3 separate regions of the Homo sapiens genome follow, and all the other regions are linked to region 2. The links are contacts of gene promoters, found by promoter capture Hi-C in human tissues and cell types (Jung and others, 2019). All regions are on one chromosome and are shown on one strand. The core of a region is centred on a gene start or on the middle of the fragment in contact, and the rest is flanking DNA. Distances in the headings are between cores, read along the strand shown.

Evidence for each region. The method cuts DNA at HindIII sites, captures the fragments that hold promoters and counts their contacts. A contact is called where the count stands out against the background at its distance.
Region 1: a contact is called between a fragment that was not itself captured here and the fragment with the promoter of IRX1 in region 2, in 1 of the 25 tissues and cell types used here (small bowel).
Region 3: a contact is called between a fragment that was not itself captured here and the fragment with the promoter of IRX1 in region 2, in 1 of the 25 tissues and cell types used here (stomach).

What each region holds. Positions count from the first base shown.
Region 1 is chr5:3,645,751-3,648,450 of GRCh38, reverse strand. No RefSeq gene overlaps it. Among named protein-coding and RNA genes, the nearest start is that of IRX1, 51 kb to the right of the region's middle. The HindIII fragment of the contact is 3,301 bases long and covers 1-2,700 here.
Region 2 is chr5:3,594,458-3,597,157 of GRCh38, reverse strand. It overlaps IRX1 (iroquois homeobox 1), which reads right to left and starts at 1,326. Exons shown (of 4, transcript NM_024337.4): 1 at 777-1,326. The coding sequence starts at 1,052. RefSeq lists a silencer at 1,329-1,623. The HindIII fragment of the contact is 23,247 bases long and covers 1-2,700 here.
Region 3 is chr5:3,548,841-3,551,540 of GRCh38, reverse strand. No RefSeq gene overlaps it. Among named protein-coding and RNA genes, the nearest start is that of LINC01019, 14 kb to the right of the region's middle. The HindIII fragment of the contact is 6,314 bases long and covers 1-2,700 here.

The DNA.
Region 1 (2,700 bases), core at 134-2,633, 51 kb before region 2:
ACCCTGACTGCCCTTCTTCCCACTCCTTGGTCAGTGTGCCGAACAAACAGGACCACAACTGCCACTGGTGAGAAGGACCCCAGGAGTCACCCCAGTGACCCCATCCTTCAACAGTGAAAAATAGAGCACAGAGTGATCCAACCAGCGCTACCCCCATGTCCACAGCCAAGCTGAGATGGGGAGCTGGGTTCCCTGATGCCCTACTCAGAATTCTTCCTACATATGAAAACAAAATTATAAGCAGAGTTTTGAAGTATGTAATGCCACAGCTAAGACAATGGAAAGATTTCAAAAAGCTAGATCATGACATAACAAAGTAATTTGGAAAACACTAGAAAATGACCATTCTCATCTATGTTTGGCCATTAAAAGGAAAGACTATAAAAAGGAAAGACTGTCTTTGAGGATTATGTCTTTATGTTACTAATGAACACATAACCAGGTCATGAAGCTCATCAGAGCCCCTCATTCCTGGAGCAAGTGCGAAGAGACCCCAGCAGGGGCTCTGCAATCCCCCACCAGCTGCACATCTCTGAAAACTGCCAGGGCTTCCACGTGACCTGCTGAGAAGCACTAAGATTCCTTCCTGGGTTCCTGGAGCTTCCTGAGGACAGACACCGTATGTGGGCATGACACCACCAAACATTTAATAAGCATCTGTTGAATTATTTGATTGATGGGTGATGGATTGATTGTCCCAGTGGGTGAGTGAGTTGATGACCTTTCAAACAACTGAAAAACATGTGTCAAGTCAAATTTCTGTTCAGGAATGCCTCCAGCAACAGAGGCAGTGCAGACATGGCACTGGGGGAAATGGCAAAAACAAAGCTCAAAATTAGGGGTCTTGCCAGGCCCATTTCTGTGGACAAAACATGGCTGTGGGGTTTGTTGAGAGAGAGGTTCTGTGGACCAGAACTGGTCTGGAAAATCTGGAAAAATCTAGGATCTATGCACGACAGTCCTTAGAAATCCAAGGCTCAGGCCGGGCACGGTGGCTCATACCTGTAATCCCAACACTTTGGGAGGCTGAGGCGAGTGGATCACGAGGTCAGGAGTTTGAGACCAGCCTGGTCAATATAGTGAAACCCTGTCTCTACTAAAAATACAAAAATTAGGCGGGCGTGGTGGCACACACCTGCAGTCCCAGCTACTTGGGAAAGTGAGGCTGCAGAATCACTTGAAACCTGGAGGCAGAGGTTGCAGTGAGCCGAGACCATGCCATTGCACTCCAGCCTGGGTAATGGAGTGAGACTCCATCTCAAAAAAAAAAAAGGAAAAGAAAGAAAGAAAGAAAGAAATCCAAGGTTCTTGGTGGGGAAGGCAGAGAATATTCCAAATGCTCAGTTGGCTTGATGGGAGTCTTCTTTTCAAGGTGCCCTCTAGAATAGCTAAAACTTTCTTTTTTATGATTTCAATTTTTATTTTATTTTCAGTGGGTACCTGTGCAGGTTTGTTACCAGAGTATACTGCGTGATGCTGAGATTTGGGGTACAATTGAAACTGTCACCCAAGTACTGAGCACAGTACTCAATAGGTCATTTTTCATACCTTGCCCCCTCTCTCTCTCCCTCCCTCCCTTCTTTGTAGAGCCCAGTGTCTATTGTTCCCATTGTTATGTCCATGTGTATCCCAAGTTTAGCTCCCACTTATAAGTGAGAACATGCAGTATTTGGTTTTCTGTTCCTGTGTTCATTTGCTTAGTATAATGGCCTCCAACTTCATCTATGTTGCTGGAAAGGACATGATTTCCTTCCTTTTGTTTGTCTGAGTAGTATTCCATTGTGTATATGTATCATATTTTCTTTATCCAGTCCAGTGTTGATGGATATTTAAGTTGATTTCATGTCTTTGCTATTGTGAATAGTGCTGTGATAAACATACGCACACATGTGTCTGTTTGGTAGAATTATTTATTTTCCTCTGGGTAAATACAAATACCCAGATATGGGATTGCAGGATCTAAAGGTAGTTTTGCTTTTAATTCTTTGAGAAATGTCCAAACTGCTTTCCACAGTAGTTGAACTAATTTACATCCCCACCAACAATGTATAAGCATAACCTTTTCTCTGCAGCCTCACCAGCTTCTGTTATTTTTTATTTTTATTTATTTATTTTTTTTTTTTTGAGACAGGGTCTTGGTCTGTCATGCAGGCTAGAGTACAGTGGCATGGTCATGGCTCACCATAGCCTCAACTTCCCGGGCTCAAGTGATCCTCCCACTTCAGCTTCCCAAGTAGCTGAGACTACAGGCATGTGCCACCATGCCCACCTTATTTTTAAATATTTTTTGTAGAGATGAGGTCTTGTTATGTTGTCTAAGATGGTCTTGAACTCTTGGGCTCAAGCGATTCTCCTGCCTCAGTCTCCCAAAGTGCTGGGATTACAGGCATAAACCACCATACCCAGCCAGCATCTGTTACTTTTTTACTTTTTCGTAATAGTCGTTCTGACTTGTGAGAGGTGGTATGTCATTGCGGTTTAAATTTGCATCTCTCTGAAGATGTTGAGCATTTTCTCATGTTTGTTGGCTGCTTGTATGTTTTCTTTGGAGAAGTGTTTGTTTATGTCTTTTGCCAAGTTTTCAACGGAATTATTTGTTTTTTGTTTGTGAGTTGTTTGAGTTTCTTGTAGATTCTGGACATTAGACCTTTGTGGAATGCATTGTTTGCAAATAGCTTCTACCATCCTGTAGGCTGTCTG
Region 2 (2,700 bases), core at 77-2,576:
AAGCCAAGGGACACTGTTTTCTTTAATCCTCCATTATGTAACGCAGGAAGAAAAGTGCTTTTCTTTCTGTGCAAATGAAATGAAAACTTGGGCAACTTACAAAAGTAAAATCAAACACCGTTTCAGACACCAGCACATTACTGCAACTTAATTTTTGTTTAATCTCAAATTCGCACTCACGCCGTGGAGAGACCTCTCCATCCCTTTGGACCTCTATTGTTAAGATTATTTTGATTGACTCTACCAGGCTTAGAAGGGGTCTGTCTGGCAAACTCGGATACAACTATCTCGGAGCTGCTAAAGAGGGAGAAAACCAAGTTTTCCAGACTCGGTTCGAAAACTAAAGAGGCCGCGCGAGTGGAACCCGCGGCCAGGAAGGGAAGTCCTGCTACGCTACGCCGGGCCGACCTGCAGGAACCCCGTGGGCCTGCCCGGGCGCCCTGGCCGAGCCAGGCGAGTTTGCCCCCGACCTCCAGCGCGGGCACCGCTCCACGGGCCTGCTTCTGCGGCCTCTCTGAATTCACTCGCTACCCGCTCCCTGGCCCGGGCCTTCCGCTTTCCCAGGCCGAGATGGCCCAGCCGTCACCCGCCCGGCCTCCCAGCCCTCTTGCGTCCCCGGGGGCCGCGGCCTCGGCCACCGGGAACCTGCCCCCGGACCTTTCTAGTTCCTCTTCCGGACCAGGTCCACCCGTAGTCTCTCCCTCCCGGGCGACCCGCCACCCTTGCCCTGGCGCGGGTGAGACAGAGGAGAAGCGGGGGAGGCCGGGCGCACTCACCATCTGCGAGAAGAGGCTGAGATCCGCGGCGTAGGGCAGGAAGGCGCTGTAGTTGGGCGCGCCCGCGTACGGCCCCGCCGCCGCGTACATGCCCAGCACCGAGGTGACTGCAGCCGCGCCTGCCCCGCCGCCCAGCTCCGCGGCCCCCGGTCGGCCCGACGAGGCGGCGGCAGCCGCCGCAGCGGCCGCGGCCAGCACCCCCGGGCGCTCGCCGCCGTAGGCGCCCGGCCCCGCGGCGCTCAGGTACTGCGGGTAGCCCAGCTGCGGGAAGGACATGTCCGCGGACTCGGCGACCGCCGCAGCGGGCGAGTATTAAAGGCGCGGGGAGGGAGGCGGAGGCCGGCCGGAGGGGGTTGCAGGGGGCGCCGCGAGGGGTCTAGGGAGGAGCGGGCGGCCGGCCGGGCGCGCTCGGGCGGGCCGGGAGATGGAGGCCGGTCGCGGCTCCTCTGCCCGGTGCTCGCAGGCGCCCGGCTCCCGGCTGCGCCCGGATCCGCAATCGCGCGCCGACTGCGGCGGCCGCCCTCCGCTCGGCGGCGGGGCTTTCAGACACAATTTGAAGTTGATGCTTTGATTGGCATCCCCTTGAGCGCAGGCCCCGCCCCTGGCTCCCCTCCCGCCCCCTCCCTGCCTCCCGCCCGCCCTCGCCGGCCGCTCCCGCCCCTCCCGCGAGCACGTGGTGCCCCGTGCCGGCCCGGCCAGCTACTCTCGCGGTGGGCGCGCGCGTCGGGGCGGCGGGGTGTGGGCCCGGAGGCCGTGGGCTCCTTCCCGACCAGCCCCCGCAGCTGTCTGACAACCTGTCGACACGGGTTTACAGCTGTCTGACACCGGGTTTGCAGTTTCGCGGCCGAGGTGTGTCCCCTTTTTAACAAAAACAACTTGGCGCCTGCTTTTCTACTGTTTGGGCAGCGGGGAAGGGGCCGGCGGCCTGGACGCTGGTGACAGCGAGGGGGGAGCGGCCTCTCCCCCGAGTCCCGCGCGGCCGGGGCCTCCAGGGGACATCTTTGGCAGAAGTGCACCCGGACGCTCTCCGCGAGCCACTGAACCGGCGTGGCGTGACACCCCCGACTCCAGATGCGGGTTCCCGTGGGCCCCTACTGGGTAGTAACCGATCGTCTGCCAATGACCGGCCTCGCCGCCCTTGGGGAAGCGGGGAGCGGCCGAGCTCTGCGGGCTCTTTCAATTGTGCAAACTTTGAGCGAGGGCAAATCCCGCGGAGAAGTCGCCAGCTCGGGGGAAGCAGGCGCAGTCGGCGCCGCGGGTTCTCGGAGGGAGGGGTGGGGGAGACGCGGGGGGAGGGGCTTTCTCTTCACCCAGAAAGCCCCCTGGCAGCCGGAGGGAAACATCCCCCGCGCCCCCGCGAAGGGGGAAGACGGTGTGGCCTGGACGCCCGGTTTGTCCACCAGGTGTGCAGAGGCAGACAGGAAACTTGTGTGGAACGCGCGAACCCGAGTCGGCGCCGCCGCCAGACCGGCAACGGAGCGGCCTCTTGGGTCCAAGTCCCGCGTCCCTCTTCTCCCTGCGTCTCCCCTCTCCATCCTCAGCCTCGTCGGGCTACAGGACGCGGCCAGGCGCGGCGCACTTGAGATGGGCTCCGTTTCGCCGCGGCCCTGGCCGTGCGGCTCCCGGGAGAAGATGCCAAGTGCACGGGCCTCCTCGCCTCCCTGAGCCTGGGAAGGCGCTGGCAGGCCACTTCTGCGCCTCGTGGCTGGAGAGCTCCGGACGGTGCCGTGGGGAACCGGGTACCAGTCCCGGCTCCCGGGGCCACTTTGCGAACCACCTCCTACGCAGAGACGGGGCCGGGAGTTCACCCCGCTGCGGCTCTCCAGCACACCGGACTCCGCGGGAATTTCAGCAGCGCACTCTGGCGTCTTCTCGGCTTTAGGCCGGGTTGGGGCTACGGGATGAAGGCGGCCATCGGGCCAGA
Region 3 (2,700 bases), core at 184-2,683, 46 kb after region 2:
GCTCTTTAGTTTAATTAGATCCCATTTGTCATTTTTTTATTTCGTTGCAATTGCTTTTGACATTTTCATCATGAAATCTTTGCCTGTGCCTATATCCTGAATGGTTTTACCTAGGATTTCTTCTGGGATTCTTAGTTTTGGGTTTTAAATTTAAGTTTTTAATCCATCTTGAGTTGATTTTTGTATGTGGTGTAAGGAAGGGGTCCTGTTTCAATTTCACACACATGGATAGCCAGTTCTCCCAGTGCCATTTATTAAATAGGGAATCTGGCTAGGCATGGTGGCTCATGCCAGGCAGGATTCCGTATTTAATAAATCCCAGCACTTTGGGAGGCAGAGGTGGATGGATCACTTCTGGTCAAGAGTTCAAGACCAGCCTGGCCAACATGGTGAAACCCCATCTCTACTAAAAATAAAAAAATTAGCCAGGCATGGTGGTGGGCACCTTTAATCCCAGCTACTTCGGAGGCTGAGGCAGGAGAATCACTTGAACCTGGGGGCGGAGGTTGCAGTGAGCCAAGATTGCACCACTGTACTCCAGCCTGGGCAACAGGGAGAGGCTCTGTCTCAAAAACAATAAATAATAAATAAAAAATAAATATGGAATCCTTTTCTCATTGCTTGCTTATGTCAGGTTTGTTGAAAATCAGATGGTTGCAGGTGTGCAGTTTTATTTCTGGGTTCTCTATTCTGTTTAATTGGTCTAGGTGTCTGTTTTGGTACAAGTGCCATCCTGTTTTGGTTACAGTAGCCCTGTAGTATAGTTTGAAGTCAGGTAGCATGATGCCTCCAGCTTTGCTCTTTTTCCTTAGGATTGCTTTGGTTATGTGGGCTCTTTTTGTTGGTTCTATTGAACTTTAACATTTTTTCCCTCATTCTGTGAAGAATTTCAATAGTAGTTTAATAGGAATAGCTTTGAATCTATAAATTACTTTGGACAGTATGGCCATTTTCATGATATTGAGTCTTTCTATTCATGAGCATGGAATGTTTTTCCATTTGTTTGTATCATCTCTGATTTCTTTGAGCAGTGTTTTGTAGTTCTTTGAAGAGGTCCTTCACTTCCCTTGTTAGCTGTATTTTTTTTTCTTTTTCTTTTCTTTTTTTTTTTTTTTGAAATGAAGTTTTGCTCTTCTTGCCTAGGCTGAAGTGTAATGATGCGATCTCAGCTCACTGTAACCTCCACCACCCAGGTTCAAGCTATTCTGTTGCCTCAGCCTCCCGAGTAGCTGGGATTACAGGTGCGTGCCACTAAGCCCAGCTAATTTTGTATATTTTTAGTAGAGATGGGGTTTCACCATGTTGGCCAGGCTGGTCTCGGGTTCCTGACCTCAGGTGATCCACCAGCCTTGGCCTCCCAAAGTACTGGGATTATAGGCATGAGCCACCGTGCCCAGCCATTCCTAGGTTTTTAAGTTCTTTTTGTGGCAATTGTGAGTGGGAGTACATTAGTGATTTGGTTCTTGGCTCGCCTGCTCTTGGTGTACAGGAATGCTAGTGACTTTTGCACATTTATTTTGAATCTGGAGAGTTTGATAAAGTTGCTCATTAGCATAAGAAGCTTTTGGGCTGAGACAATTGGGATTTCTAGATATAAAATCAAGTCATCTGCAAGCAAAGGTAGCTTGACTTCTTTTCTTCCTATTTGAATACACTTTATTTTTTTCTCTTGCCTGATTGCCCAGGCCAGAACTTCCAATACTATGTTAAAGAGGAATGGTGAAAAAGGACAACCTTGTCTTGTGGTGATTTTCAAGGGGAGTGCTTCCAGTTTTTGCTCATTCAATATGATATCGGCTGTGGGTTTATCATATATGGCTCTTAATCTTCTGAGGTATGTTTCTTCAATACCTAGTTTTTTGGGGGAGAGCTTAACATGAAGTGATATTTAATTTTATCAAAGGCCTTTTCTGCATCTACTGAGATAATCATGGTCTTTTGATAATTATTTTGTCTTTGGTTCTATTTATATGATGAATCTCATTTATTAATTTGTATATATGAACCAGCCTTGCATCCTGGGGGTGAAGCCTACTTGATGGTGGCAAATAAGCTTTTTGACCTGCTGCTGTATTCGGTTTGCCAGTATTTTGTTGAGGATTTTTGTGTCAATGTTCATCAAAGATATTGTGCTGAAGTTTTTTGTTGTTGTTGTATCTCTGTCAGGTTTTGGTATCAGGATGATGCTAGCCTTGTAGAATGAGTTTGGGAGGAATTATTCCTTTTCAATTTTTTGGAATAGTTTCAATAGAAATGGTACCAGCTCTTCTTTGTACCTCTGGTAGAATGCAGCTGTAAATCTATCTGGTCCTGGGTTTTTTTTTGTTGTTGTTGGTAGTCTATTTATTACTGATTCAATTTCAGAACTCGTTATTGGTCTACTCAGGAATTCAGTTCTTTCCTGGTTCAGTCTTCGGTGGGTGTATGTGTCCAGAAATTTATTCATTTCTTCTAGATTTTCTAGTTGATGTGCATAGAGGTGTTTATAGTATTCTCTGATGATTGTATTTCTTTGGGGTCAGTGTTAATATCCCCCTTATCATTTCTGATTGTCCAACCTTTTTTTTTTTTTTTTCCTGAGACGACATTTGTTGCCCAGGCTGGAGTGCAATGGTGTGATCTCGGCTCGCTGCAACCTCCGCCTGCCGGGTTCAAACGATTCTCCTGCCTCAGCCTCCTGAGTAGCTGGGATTACAGGTA